Regions from separate parts of the Homo sapiens genome. Here regions 2 and 3 are each linked to region 1. Evidence: promoter capture Hi-C in human tissues and cell types (Jung and others, 2019). All regions are on one chromosome and are shown on one strand. Each heading gives the region's core, a stretch centred on a gene start or on the middle of the fragment in contact. The rest is flanking DNA. Distances are from core to core; before and after follow the strand shown. Region 1 holds the start of FGF20 (fibroblast growth factor 20). Region 2 overlaps LOC105379297 (a long non-coding RNA gene). Region 3 overlaps ZDHHC2 (zDHHC palmitoyltransferase 2).

Region 1 (5,001 bases), core at 2,502-5,001:
CTTTAGATCTTGGTTATATCATCAAAAGACAGAATTTGATAGTTATTTGAGTTTCTTTCTTTCTTTTTTTTAATATGTTATTCATCCCTCATGTGTGGTTATATTACTCACTTTAATACAGTTAGGTTCATTTGTTCCTGCTTTTATTCCATCCCCACTTCTCTCTCATTTATTTTATTTTATTTTACTTTAAAAAAATGTAAAACATTAACATTTCTCCAAAAGTCAAAACTCTATAAAAAGTTCTCAGATGAATGTCACTCCTCCAACCCTTCCACTCCATTCATATCCATCCCCTGCTAACCAACTAACCAGGTAACCAAGTTCATTAATTTTTGGTTTATCCATTCTGTGTTTATTTTTAGAATAAATAAGCATATACATGTAGACGTTTCTCATTTTTTTCTTTCTTACAGAAAAGGCAGACACTATATATATTCTTTGCTGTTTTCACTTAACGGTGTATCCTGCAAATATTCCATGTTCGTTCACAGACATCTTTGTCAGCTGTATAATGCTCCATTGTGTGAATGTACCATAATTTATTCAGTTTCCTGTGTATAGAAATTTATGTTGTTGCTAATATTTTGTAATTATAAATAATGAATAATGTGCAAATATACTCTTACTTTATTGGAGATGTATATCATGACCATTAAATCAGCTCTATTTCTTTTTCTCATATTGAACACATGTAGCAGCCTCAAAAGGTATGAACTCCTCATGTGTAAAAACAAAGGTTCCTGACAATATATCATCTGAAAACCTATATAGGGATTATATAGTCTGGAAAACTCAAACTACATTTTGTGGAAGTAGAAGTTGTACCACGTATTTGTATAACAGCAAGGCAAGTGTGGTCTCTAGGAAGCATAGGTAAAGTTGATTAGATTGCAATGTATACTTAAAAGTTGAATAATGCACTCTTGTAAAACACTCTTCAAAATTATTTAACTTCCCATGATATCATCACAGCATGTGCAAAAAAAAAAAATCTTTAGTGTTATCTTTTCCTGTCACATGACTAGTGCAAACAAAAGAAATTCTTATCTTTTTGTTTCTAGTCTGGTCCTTTATAAAACAGCATTAAGCACCATTCAAACTTACACATTAAAGGTTTGGTTTGGGAAAAAAAGATTTATTTTGTATTTCAGACCAATTATATTTGTTAAGTTAGAAAGCAAAAATTTTCACAACAACTAGAGTTTTCTAGCATATTCTATGCATAGAAAACTATAGTTTTAAAACCATTTTCCAATATATTTTTACATTTAAGTCTCATGGCAACTCTAGGCATAGTAGTTAGGCTGGAGTTATATTATCCTTATTTTACAAAAGAGAAAATAAAAGCATTTAGAGAATTTAAGGAAATTGGCCTGGGATGTTGGACTCTGGGCAAAACGGGGATTTAGGACCATATTTTTTCGCTATAAAGCAGGATGTGCCTATGTCTTATGGTCATTGTGGTGATCAAATAAGGTAATACACATGTAAATACCAAGGTGTACAAAGAGAAGGCGATTCTATTATGAAAGTATTTAAACTTTCATGACTATGAATAAGAAATTCCCCATTTTTTGTATATATATAAGCAATACAACAGATTTGAACAGTCTAACAGCTATAGCTCATACAGCAGGACTAAAGTGTTCATGTGGGAAAATAGTTTGTAGACTGAACTAGTACTTTTAGAAGCAGGTGATGATAATATATTTCCATTGTGGAATAATTAACAGCATTATATGTTGCACAGAACTTGGACCTTGAAACAAACCTCATTAAAAGGCACTTGATCTAAGTTTAAAACCCTTAAGTATCTCCTCTTTAAAAGTGATCAGTGGATGTACTGGCTACTTCAGTTATCCTGCTACGAGATTCACACAACTTTGATCTAAGTTTCTTTGATTTAACACTGCAATTAAGAAGATTTGGTTCAAAGTAAAAGCTCATTGGTTGATGTTTTACACTGATGTGATAATGTTTACACAGATGTGTTTGAAACCTTGATTATGGTGGATTTGGGGTCCTACCACAAGACAGACTGCTGTTATTTGAAAGGTGAAATAATACAACATTTACCTGGTGCAACCTTTAAAACAGACTTAGCAATATACGTTTCTAAAGTGATTTATCTGTTTATTGTTTTTAGCCAGCGTTTTTGTTTTATTTCATATCTATCAACAGTAAATCACTTGCTTTAAGAACTCTTTTATAACTTGGTTACACAAGGGTCAGTAGTTAGGCCTGTAGTGATGAAAATGTGTAACTATACCCACTTTAGAGCACCTGCCAATTAATTAGAAAAAATCCTTCAGAGCAAATAAAATAAACCAGTCAAATCCAACTGAGCTGCCAGGCTTATGCTTTTTTTAAACAGATCATGAAACAAGACTGAGAAAGTAATCTTCATCAGTTCCCTAAAACTTTTTGCTCAGAGGAAGCATAAATCTGCCCAATGATTCTCAATTCTTCTACCACTGAAAAATTTTAACAGAAAGATCTTGAATTTAACTAGTGGTGCAAAACCAGTTTCAACGTTTAAATGAACATGTATCTAATTCCTTGGCTTCCATGGTTTTTGATTTTACAAATATGCTCAAGCACTCTTCAATTTTACCAGTAACTTTTGAAGTCTCAAAACACATCAAGCCTCAAGACTATTTCCATTTAGTTATTTTTAGATTTTATAATTAAAATGTAAACAAAAACATCTAGCTTTTAGAAAAACGCAACTAAGAAAAACAGGAAAGTGCTCTTAGATTGTATAAGGGCCCAAGAAGCCACTCATCATTTATGACAATATTCCAGATATTCATTTTCTATTCACGGCAAAATATAGAGATGCAAATCATTTCTTTCCAGCCTATTTGGATTTACTGTAAATCCTTTGATTCGTGATTATATTTTGCTTTATTTTACACTAATTAGAAGTTCATGACCTTAGCACACAATTAAAAATACATATGTGTATTATGTATATATATATATGGCAATTTTGGTTATATTATGTGCTGAGTAAAGGTAAACATTAAAGAGAAATTGTAAAGAGGGGGAGGGAGGGTGTTCCTTACCTAACCTTGATTATGTAAAGAAAATCCCCCATCTAAATGATAAAAGAAAGGAGCAATGCTTGTACATTTTATTAGTGTTTTAAAATTAGTGAGTTAAACTGTCAAAGCTTTGATTTTTCTTTCATGTGTGTCTGGGCAGGTCTGTAAGCCCCAGGTAACGCCCTTTTTCCTTCTCCCTTGCTTACCTTTCTTTGCACCTGTCCACTGCAGGCTCCCAAGGAGTCCAATTCTCCTTTTCTCTTTCCTCCTCCTACCAATGCCCTCCTTCTCTTTCTCTCCCTCCCCGCCTTCCCTCCCTCCTCCCTTCCTCTTCTTCTATATCCCTGCCAAGTTGGGCTCCTTTTAGAGGCGATTTATCACTGCAAAGCTCACATCAAAGACGGTTGCACGGCCGCAGCTGAACAGCATCACCGCTGTCCCAAGGACAACCCCAAAGAGGGGCCTCGACTGCACCTCCTCGAAGTTGCTGGCTGGCTTTGGCCAAGTGCAGGAATGGTTTTTGTGAGGGCATGGATGGAGAAGTGCCAAGGGCCCCTTTTGGTCACTTCCGAAGAGCAAAAACGTGTTGAGAGGAGACCGGTTTAAGATTTCAAACAGAACCTCCCCAGCGCGCATGAAAGGACTTGATTAGCATATGTCAAGAGGACCCGCTTATATACTCGGTGTGTATGTACACAGGACTCTGATCTGATCAGTTTGCGGAATTGGAGCCCCAGCCAACAGCCCTAGTCCTAGTATTGGCAGCGGCAGCTATAGATATTTCTGCAGAGCCAGCAGCCGGCTCCCACCTACCCAAGGAGAGAAGATCGCTCCAAGACAGTGAGAGCTTCCCTGCCATTTCAGTGCAAAGTCCCTCCGGAGCGACCTCAGAGGAGTAACCGGGCCTTAACTTTTTGCGCTCGTTTTGCTATAATTTTTCTCTATCCACCTCCATCCCACCCCCACAACACTCTTTACTGGGGGGGTCTTTTGTGTTCCGGATCTCCCCCTCCATGGCTCCCTTAGCCGAAGTCGGGGGCTTTCTGGGCGGCCTGGAGGGCTTGGGCCAGCAGGTGGGTTCGCATTTCCTGTTGCCTCCTGCCGGGGAGCGGCCGCCGCTGCTGGGCGAGCGCAGGAGCGCGGCGGAGCGGAGCGCGCGCGGCGGGCCGGGGGCTGCGCAGCTGGCGCACCTGCACGGCATCCTGCGCCGCCGGCAGCTCTATTGCCGCACCGGCTTCCACCTGCAGATCCTGCCCGACGGCAGCGTGCAGGGCACCCGGCAGGACCACAGCCTCTTCGGTACGTACTAGCATCCCGACCCCACCCCCATCTGCGCCCCAGCTCGGCTCCTCGTTCCCTCCCCTTGCACCTCCCTCTTTGCCTGCCAAGGGCGTCATCGCCGCGCGGAGCCCGGAGCTCCCCTGGACCCATCCGGTGCAAGACGCAGGCTGGGGCTGAAGGGCTGGCCAGAGCAGCCGCGGGGAGAAATTTTCCTGCTGGTTTGTCGCCGCAGCCTCTAGCAGGGCAGCAGCTCCAGATGCTGGGGGCGGGAGGAGAAAGGGTGGGCGCTTCGCAAGCTCCTTCCTGCCTTCCCCTTGCCCTTCCCACTGCCGGGGACACCAAGACCTGGTGCACTCGGCATCACGGTTCTCGCACTGCTTACCTCGCAGTCAGTTTTAAAAAAAATCCCTGTATGTTTCTCTCCGATTTCCTTTCTCATTTTCCCCCATGCCGTCCACTTTACAAAAATTAATAACAGGAAGCGCCGGGCTTCTTTAAACATGCCCCACAGTTATGCAGCTGATTATGCACCCGGGGCTGCTCTGGGCATGGATTGCGAGCATTTACGTGTCTACCTAGAGACTTGCAAATGTTCACCTGAAGAGGTAGCAGATTAACTTTCCGTGGGCACATTCGCTACCTGTAGGGCTCACCTGTCTGAGGTTCCCTC
Region 2 (5,001 bases), core at 1,492-3,991, 190 kb after region 1:
TGTTGTTATCTAAATTTAAGACATTGACAAGCATTTGACCTTGATGGTCCCAGTAAAAAGTGATGGTAAACATATGAAGAAGTATTGCTTTTCTTTGTTTCTCTTTCTCTATTGCCCAAACTTAAAGCAACATTGAGTAAGATTAGAAGTTTTTCTCTTATTTATATATAATAGTTGTACATAGTTTTTAGAACTTTTTGATTGTAACATTCTCAATGCTATCAGAAATGAAAAGGGCAGTATTCATTTCATATCTTGAACCACTAACATGCTGATTATTTAAATTTGTGTTCATAAGGTATAATAAAAGTGTTTTACATTTTAGAATTCTAGTTTCTTTCATGCAGAGGGTCTCTAGAAGGAAAATTCTAGAAAATGATACCATCACCTCTCTGTGATATCCCAATTTATTGTAGAACTTGGAATCCCATGTAAAAGAAATAAAAAATATTTAGTTTATTTTGGGTAGAATTAAGAATAAAATAATAAACAAAATTAGTATTAATATTCAGTATTTGACTAGGTGGAAATTATAGAATCTTCTACATAACCTTAAGGTCTGTATTTACCATCTCATTGCCAATTAATTATCAATTACTTAAGCAAATATTGCACCACTGTTTGCCAGGCTCTGTTATAGGCTCTTGTGATTTATAGGTTAATAAAACATATAAATTCTGCCCACCAAGCATTTACATATAAAGTGTACAAACATTTGATACATACTTATACTGTGTTGAAATGTATGTAAACTGGCTGGACTCGGTGGCTCACGCCTGTAATCCCAGCACTTTGGGAGGCCGAGGCGGGCGGATTACTTGAGGTCAGGAATTCAAGACCAGCCTGGCCAACATGGTGAAACCGTCTCTACTAAAAATACAAAAAAATTAGCTTGGCCTGGTGGTGGGCGCCTGTAATCCCAGCTACTAGGGAGGGTGAGGCAGGAGAATCGCTTGAACTCGGGAGACGGAGGTTGCAGTAAGCCAAGATGGAGCCATTGCACTTCAGCCTGGGCAAGAAGAGTGAAACTCTGTCTCAAAAAAAAAAAAAGTGTGTAAACATTTAATAGATTTTATAACACAGCAAATAATGCCAGTGGTGCATCTAAAAGGTTTAAGGAGCCATTGGAAACACAGCATATAAAGTCACAATGTTGGAGAGCCTTTTATTCATTATCCAACAAATATTTTGTGAACTTACCAAAGATGGAAATGCTATATTGAACACTTTCTGTACTGATTTTAGTGATTCTAAGAATCACAGATTTGTAAATCATATAAATGTAATAACCTGGTGTGGAAGATGGATGAGAAAAACTCAGTGACGGCACTAATCCATGCAATTGCTGTGATAATCATCAATAATGTAGTGCATTTTTTTTTTTCTTGATGAAGTGGACTTGTCAAGCCATAGAACAGTGTGGTTTATAGTAGCTAGAATCTGCACACACCATTTGGGTCAAGCCAAAATGTCCCTGATGGGCATCATGCTCTACTGGTCAAAGGAGAGTTGAAAAAGAAATGTTACTGTCCCCCCCGCCCCCAGGAATGTTTTTTTTTACATTGTGGTTTCAGAATGTCGCTAGAAAAATACAAATATTTTATTGAATGCTTTTATACATTGTGGTTTCAGAATCTCTAGAAAAATACAAATATTTTATTGAATGCTTTTTTATATTGTGGTTTGAGAATATCTCTAAAAAATACAATATTTTATTGAATGCTTTTTTATATTGTGGTTTCAGAATATCTCCAGAAAAATACAAATATTTTATTGAATGCTATTTTACTTTGTAGTTTCAGAATGTCTCTAGAAAAATACAAATATTTTATTGAATGCTTTTTTACATTGTGATTTAAGAATATCTCTAGAAAAATGCAAATATTTTATTTAAATAAAAAACATGACTTCACCAAGTAAATTATATATCCTACATTAATTTTAAAAACATTCTTGGCCGGGCACGGTGGCTCTCGCCTGTAATCCGAGCATTTTGGGAGGCCGAGGCAGGCAGATCATGAGGTCAGGAGTTTGAGACCAGCCTGGCCAACATGGTGAAACCCCGTCTCTACTAAAAATACAAAAAACAGCTGGGCGTGGTGGCAGGCGCCTATAGTCCCCGCTACTTGGGAGGCTGAGGCAGGAGAATCATCTGAACCCGGGAGGTGGAGGTTACAGTGAGCCGAGATCACGCCATTGCACTCCAGCCTAGGTGACTCTGACTCAAAAAAAAAAAAAAAAAATTGTAGGCTTTAAAAATATTATTAAATGATTTATTTATATATTTATATTTTTGCATTTAGAAATATGTTGAAAAAAGGAAAAAATTAGGTGAATTTAAGAACATATAAAAAAGATTTAAATATCTTCCTTCTACATTGATAAATAATAGAATCGATGGTTATTTAAATGACTATATCTGATTGTTTAGACACATTAAGTGAGGCAACTTAGCTCAGATAAAGTCACTCCAACAATCCCCTTCAAAAAGCCAGCAATTCACCCAAATTAACCATTTTAATAAAAGAGAACCTCTGTTCCTGTTGCTTTTATCACAGAATCGGGATGTGGGGGGTGAGGGACAAACTATAGAATAAGCTTTTATAAACACACAAAATGATATTTTCCTTTAGAATGGGAAAGGAAAGTTTCATTGAAAAGTACACATCTCAGGTAAAGCTAGTTTTACTTTTATTCTTCGTCTTCTTAAAGCTGGCTGTAGAGAAGCTCATTGTGTTGCCCTGTACTTTTTGTTCAAGGCACCTGAGCAATACACAATGTATCACTTATCGGTAGAACAAAAGACTCCTTCATCAGTCAGACTCGGGGGAAGAGGACAGCTGCAGACTCAGAACTGCACTAGGCAGGTACTTTGCTTGAGACAGAACAGGAAGTAGACCATTCACGTGGACCTTCATGTCTAACCCTATTTAATTTGACTCAAGCAAGATTAGTCTCTTTCAAAACGTATCTATGTTTAATGGTAATCTTAGATGTTTGTTTCTTATTAGAGACTTGGTTCAGAAAATGCAGAAAACGCGTTGTATTATGTGGGTTTTGCAGTAGAAACAATAGCTATTTTTATTTAGCTGAAGAGTGCTGCTATAGACAGATTTCTACATTGTAGAAAAATATCTTTATTGCAAAAATTACAATATAAAAATCATATTTTTTTAACTGAATGTAAGACCGAAGAAAATCAGGAAGGTTTTGTGCTATTGATAGTGTAAACGAACATTAAAAAAAAACTTTCATTGTCCTGCAAAGACACAATTAAAATTGACAGTTTAATCTAAATGCGAATCTTATCATTGAATATACTGTTTTTCCTTTAATGTATATGTGTGTGTGTGTATATATATATACACACACATCCTTTTAGGATTCTAAGACTATACTCAGATTTCCATTAAATTAAAAAAATCACTTTCGAAGGTTATTAAAATGTAGAAACCCAAATTCTTGAGAAATCATGAAAGAAATAACTGTTTCCTTAATAATTCAAGGATTTCTTAGCTGCTGTGTAGGCTACCCCCATGGGATAATTTAATACAGAATATTTCATGCAAGTCAGCAGTCATCACATTTTTCTTTCATTCTGTTGAGTGTGTCTCTGACATAAATGTTTGAGTAATCACACATTAGAATAATAAAATATATTGATGCTTATGCCATCATTTACTCCATGACAATAGTATAAACAGAATGTCGTCATATATTTGCAGTATGAATAATTGCAGGACCTCATTAATTTGGGGTGCCTTGAGGAAGGAAAGAGAATCTATATTAAAAAATTTAGAAAAACAAAAAAAATTTGTCAAACTACTTACAGGTATAGCCTGACTCTTAAGTGACTTAGAGACTTAAAGGCAGGGCATACAGCGGTTCTTGTTTGAATAAATAGTTCAAAATTGTTTATAGTTAGCATATTCATTTTTTGCCAGTGGATGCCTCTATCTGGTTGAAAACTTTTCTTTCTACAGTAATGTCTTGATCTCCTACAATATTTCTGGCACTGATTTGGATAAGGAGGATAGCTGTAAATAAAATGATTTATTTTCAGTAGCTTGATCACAAAGGCTGTGAGACATTTTGTATTAGTCATTTAAATCACTGAATGGTTAAAATTGACTTTATCACAGTATAATTATAAACTTGGGTTTTGTGCAGATCTAACTTTTCATTTAGTGTTTTCTCGTTTGTGTAGGTTAGAAAATTGCTTCCCAGTTAAACAAGTAGTACCTAAAATTTCAAATTGGTATTGCTATAATCTGGCAGGTGATTATGTGTGCATGAATATCTTATATCTATCAATTTCATATACAGATTGCCTGTATATATTTAAATATAGGTGTCTATATCCATATACATATATTATCTATTTATAGACATACAGATGCTCCTCTTCTTACAATGGGGTTATGTCCTGATAAATCTATTGTCAAGTTCAAAATATTGTGAATTGAAAATGTATTGAATACATGTAGCCAGTGAACATTATAGTTTAAATGGGCTGACCTTACACGTGCTCAGGACATTAACATTAGCCTACAGTTGGGCAAAATCATCTAATAGAGAGTCTATTTTATAATAAAGTGTGGAATAGCTCATGTGATGTATTGAATACTGTACTGAATATGAAAAACGGAATGGTTGCATGAGTAGTCGAAGTGCAGTTTATACTGAATGTGTATTGCTTTTGCACCATCATAAAGTTGAAAAATTGTTAAGTTAAATCAGGGGTGTCAAATCTTTTGGCTTCCCTGGGCCACATTGAAAGAAGAATTGTCTTGGGCCACACATAAAATACTCTAACGCTAACAATAGCTGATAAGCTAAAAAAAAAAAAAAAAAAAAAAAAAAAAAAAAGAAAGCTCGAAAACATCTTGTAACGTTTTAAGAAGGCCCAATTTATGTTGGGCCACATTCGAAGCCGTCCTGGGCTTCATGCAGCCTATGGGCTGCAGGTTGGATGAGCTTGAGTTAAACCATCATAAGCTG
Region 3 (3,315 bases), core at 1-2,500, 160 kb before region 1:
ACAATTAATTATCTTGAATAAAGAAACCATCCCGTCAGCTTCTGTTTAATTACTGGAAACATTCCTGCAAGTACCAATTTAATGGCATGGATGACATTCTCAGTAAGCAATTGCAAGCGAACTTTTCCATAATAAGCCTCAGTTTAAACTGAGGTTTGACCCCAGATCCTGTCCTCTCACTTATTTGCATTATACAATTGAATAAGACTAAGTAGAAACTATGAGATTAATTCATTCAACATTTATTGCGCATTTGTACATGCTAAGACTGTGCTAATTGCCTTAAATGTTTTTCTCTAATAGGGTTTAATAGCAAATAGTAATGCTGCATTGTCCAGTACATCAAAAGAAAAGGAAGTCTCTGACACACTAAATGGAACCAAAAAAGCATTAAGCAGAGTCCTTTCTCTTACTCCCCTTTCCGACTTGACCATTTATATTAAAGTAAAATGGGAGCACGGATCAAGAGTTTGGAACATATCATGTTTTATACATTTGAATTTTTGATTTGAAGAAATGTTGAGTTTTTATTACCCTATTCACATAAATTCAAATCTTTAAAATATTCAACAATATCAAGAAAAGTCACAGAATATATTTTGAATCATATTGCCAACAACTAATAATTTCTTTTTTTTATTTTTTATTTTTTTGAGACAGGGTCTCGCTCTGTCACCCCAGGCTGAAGTGCAGTGGTGTGATCTCGGCTCACTGCAGCCTCTGCCTCCCCGGTTCAGGCAATTTCTTCTGCCTTAGCCTCCCGAGCAGCTGTGACTACAGGCACGCACCACCACACCTGGCTAATATTTGTATTTTTTGGTAGAGACAGGGTTCCACTATGTTGGCCAGGCTGGTCTCAAACTCCTGACCTCAAGTGATCCTCCCACCTTGGCCTCCCAAAGTGCTGGGATTACAAGGGTGAGCCACCGTGCTGGCCAATAAGTAATCATTTCTAAGGTGACGTAGGCGTTAAATGTTTTGCATACATCAGTTTTCTATGGATGTGCCTTACATTCCACTTAAAACTATTTTAATATTTAAAACAGTTGGCAAAACCAACTAATGGCAAAAACTGCAATTACTTTTGCATCAACTTAATAGAACATCTGTATTCCCAAGATCTACTGCCTGTTCTTTTTTTGTGAAAAATGCTTTATTGTCCTACACAGTTTTTAAAGTAATAGTTTAAGTATCAGGAATATCAAGATATTAATAATATAAAGCAACAGTTTAAAATCAATAACAAGAAAACATTTCTTCTTCTGTGTAGCTCAAATTCATTTCATGGTGGAAAACAACTGACAGCCCCAGCAGTCTCTATCCTTGAGCCTGCAGTGGCCTTCAATGAATGGTAGGTCATAACTTCACAGAATCCAAGTAGGAGGCTTTGTGTATTTTGTTCTTAGGGATGTTTGTTTTCTTGTTTGTTTAAAAGAATGAAAACATGGCAGCGTATCTCTCAAACTGATCCCTAAGTATTATAATCACTGTGGAATATAACAGGCTGCAATCACTGCTGAAGGATGTTTAGTAATAAAGACAGCAAAACTGCGAGTAAAACCTCAAGATTCTAGTGGTCTAGCTTCCCACATACTCCAAAGCTCAGCAAACTTTTGCCCAAGGGCCAAGATTGGCCAAATATTTTTGTTGAATAAAAGCCACGCCCATTTGTTAAAGTATCTTCTATGGCCGCTCTCTAAGATAGCAGAGTTGAGTGGTTGGAACAGAGATCACACGGCTTGCAAAGCCAAAAATATGTACTATATAGCCCCAAACTACAAAGCCCTTTAAATCTCTAAAATTGTGTAAAGACTGTTGGCTTATTTTCAGAGCTCTGTCAACTCTCTGTAAACGATAATAAAGTTAAAAAGAGTTGCTGCATAACTTCAATGGGCTAAGATATTTGGAGAGGGGTTTGCTGGGAAAAGGAGACATCTGGACATCTGCATTACAGCAGCTAAGGTCATAGCTGACACCTCCGCTAGGTAACTCGGAGGAAGGACATTGAACTTGTGGCAACTCTGGAATTTAGTTTAACTCTTTCGTTTAAAAATACAGAAGGGGTTAGCCTGGATGACCTTTAAGCTTTTGAAAATTCATGATCGTTTAAAATGACGTAACTAAAACCGTAAGCAAATTCAGAACTACATGACTGCGCAACATCATCATAAACGTCCCATAGCACCTGCCTAAGGAGCAGGAAAGTAATATATTTAAGAAAAATGGGAACTGAACTGGTTACACAAGTGTATGTGGAAGTTTCTTGTACTATTGAAACTTTTCAGTAAATCTGAAATAAAGAAAACGGTATGAAATAGTTAAAACAATTTAAATGTTAGCACTTAAAAGGGGAAACTTCAGTGAACCTTCTTCAACAAGCGAAGTTAACACAGCAGCAGCCATAAGGGATCTGTAAAACATAAACCACGTCGTGTGCTCGCTGAATGGAGCATGCCTGAGGCTGCAGACCTCCCTCATTCCCTCTCATAGTGCATCCTAAAGTTCCCCGTACAAATGTTACCTTTGAGTTTATCTTACTTGACGGAAACCAACCTAATATCTAAAGAGAGCAAAGAGAGTTAAAACACAAAAGAAGCCAGGAGTGGAGAGAGGGACAGGAGGGACAGGGGAGAGGGAAAAGGAGTGGTAAGAGAAGGAAAGGATGGAGGGGGAGGAATACAAATAGAAGAGCCTCGTTAATCAACAAACGAGATAAACGTGGTCCAAATGATTAGAAGTATAACTGTCTTTTGTGATCTTTTCTTTGGCAGAATAGGAAGCTGACTTAACCAAAAATACTTGACTCTCACACAATATATGTACATCCCATATATTTTACATATACACATATTCCAAAAAGAGAGGTTATTTTTATAAAATACAAACACTAAGCAAAAATTATGCTAACTGAAAAAGTGCCTAGAGAGCCACATACATCCACGTTGTTAAATATAGAAACTAACTGTAATGAGAATCATTATCTCCAGTTTCCAAGGATACCAGGATAAGCACTACTCCTAAATTGCAGTTCATTCAGCAAAGGGCACAGAATAATTTATATTCAGGGTCATCCCTAGCTGAGAGCAGATGTGGAAGGAGGACCAGGGTAAATCACCTTGTTTCTTCTATTCCATTTGCTACCTGATCCAGTTCCCAGCCCTCGACCCCCACACTCTGGTCCCAACCTTGGCCAATGTTTTATGGAAGAAATTTGGAAAATCTGCTTGTAAATGGCAACTTCCAAGAGAAAAAGAATCTTCAAAGGGCAGGGCAGTCTGAGATGTGATTAATACTGGGGGTAGGGTGGGGGCTGGT

The links. The method cuts DNA at HindIII sites, captures the fragments that hold promoters and counts their contacts. A contact is called where the count stands out against the background at its distance.
Region 2: a fragment that was not itself captured here is called in contact with the fragment with the promoter of FGF20 in region 1 in 1 of the 25 tissues and cell types used here (stomach).
Region 3: a fragment that was not itself captured here is called in contact with the fragment with the promoter of FGF20 in region 1 in 2 of the 25 tissues and cell types used here (H1 embryonic stem cells and dorsolateral prefrontal cortex).

What each region holds. Positions count from the first base shown.
Region 1 is chr8:17,001,095-17,006,095 of GRCh38, reverse strand. FGF20 (fibroblast growth factor 20) reads left to right here and starts at 3,751. Exons shown (of 3, transcript NM_019851.3): 1 at 3,751-4,349. The coding sequence starts at 4,064. RefSeq lists a silencer at 4,165-4,234. The HindIII fragment of the contact is 12,794 bases long and covers 1-5,001 here.
Region 2 is chr8:16,808,904-16,813,904 of GRCh38, reverse strand. All of the region lies in intron 2 of LOC105379297 (a long non-coding RNA gene), which reads left to right. Among named protein-coding and RNA genes, the nearest start is that of FGF20, 190 kb to the left of the region's middle. The HindIII fragment of the contact is 6,554 bases long and covers 1-5,001 here.
Region 3 is chr8:17,159,199-17,162,513 of GRCh38, reverse strand. All of the region lies in intron 1 of ZDHHC2 (zDHHC palmitoyltransferase 2), which reads right to left. Among named protein-coding and RNA genes, the nearest start is that of ZDHHC2, 4.4 kb to the right of the region's middle. The HindIII fragment of the contact is 5,380 bases long and covers 1-3,315 here.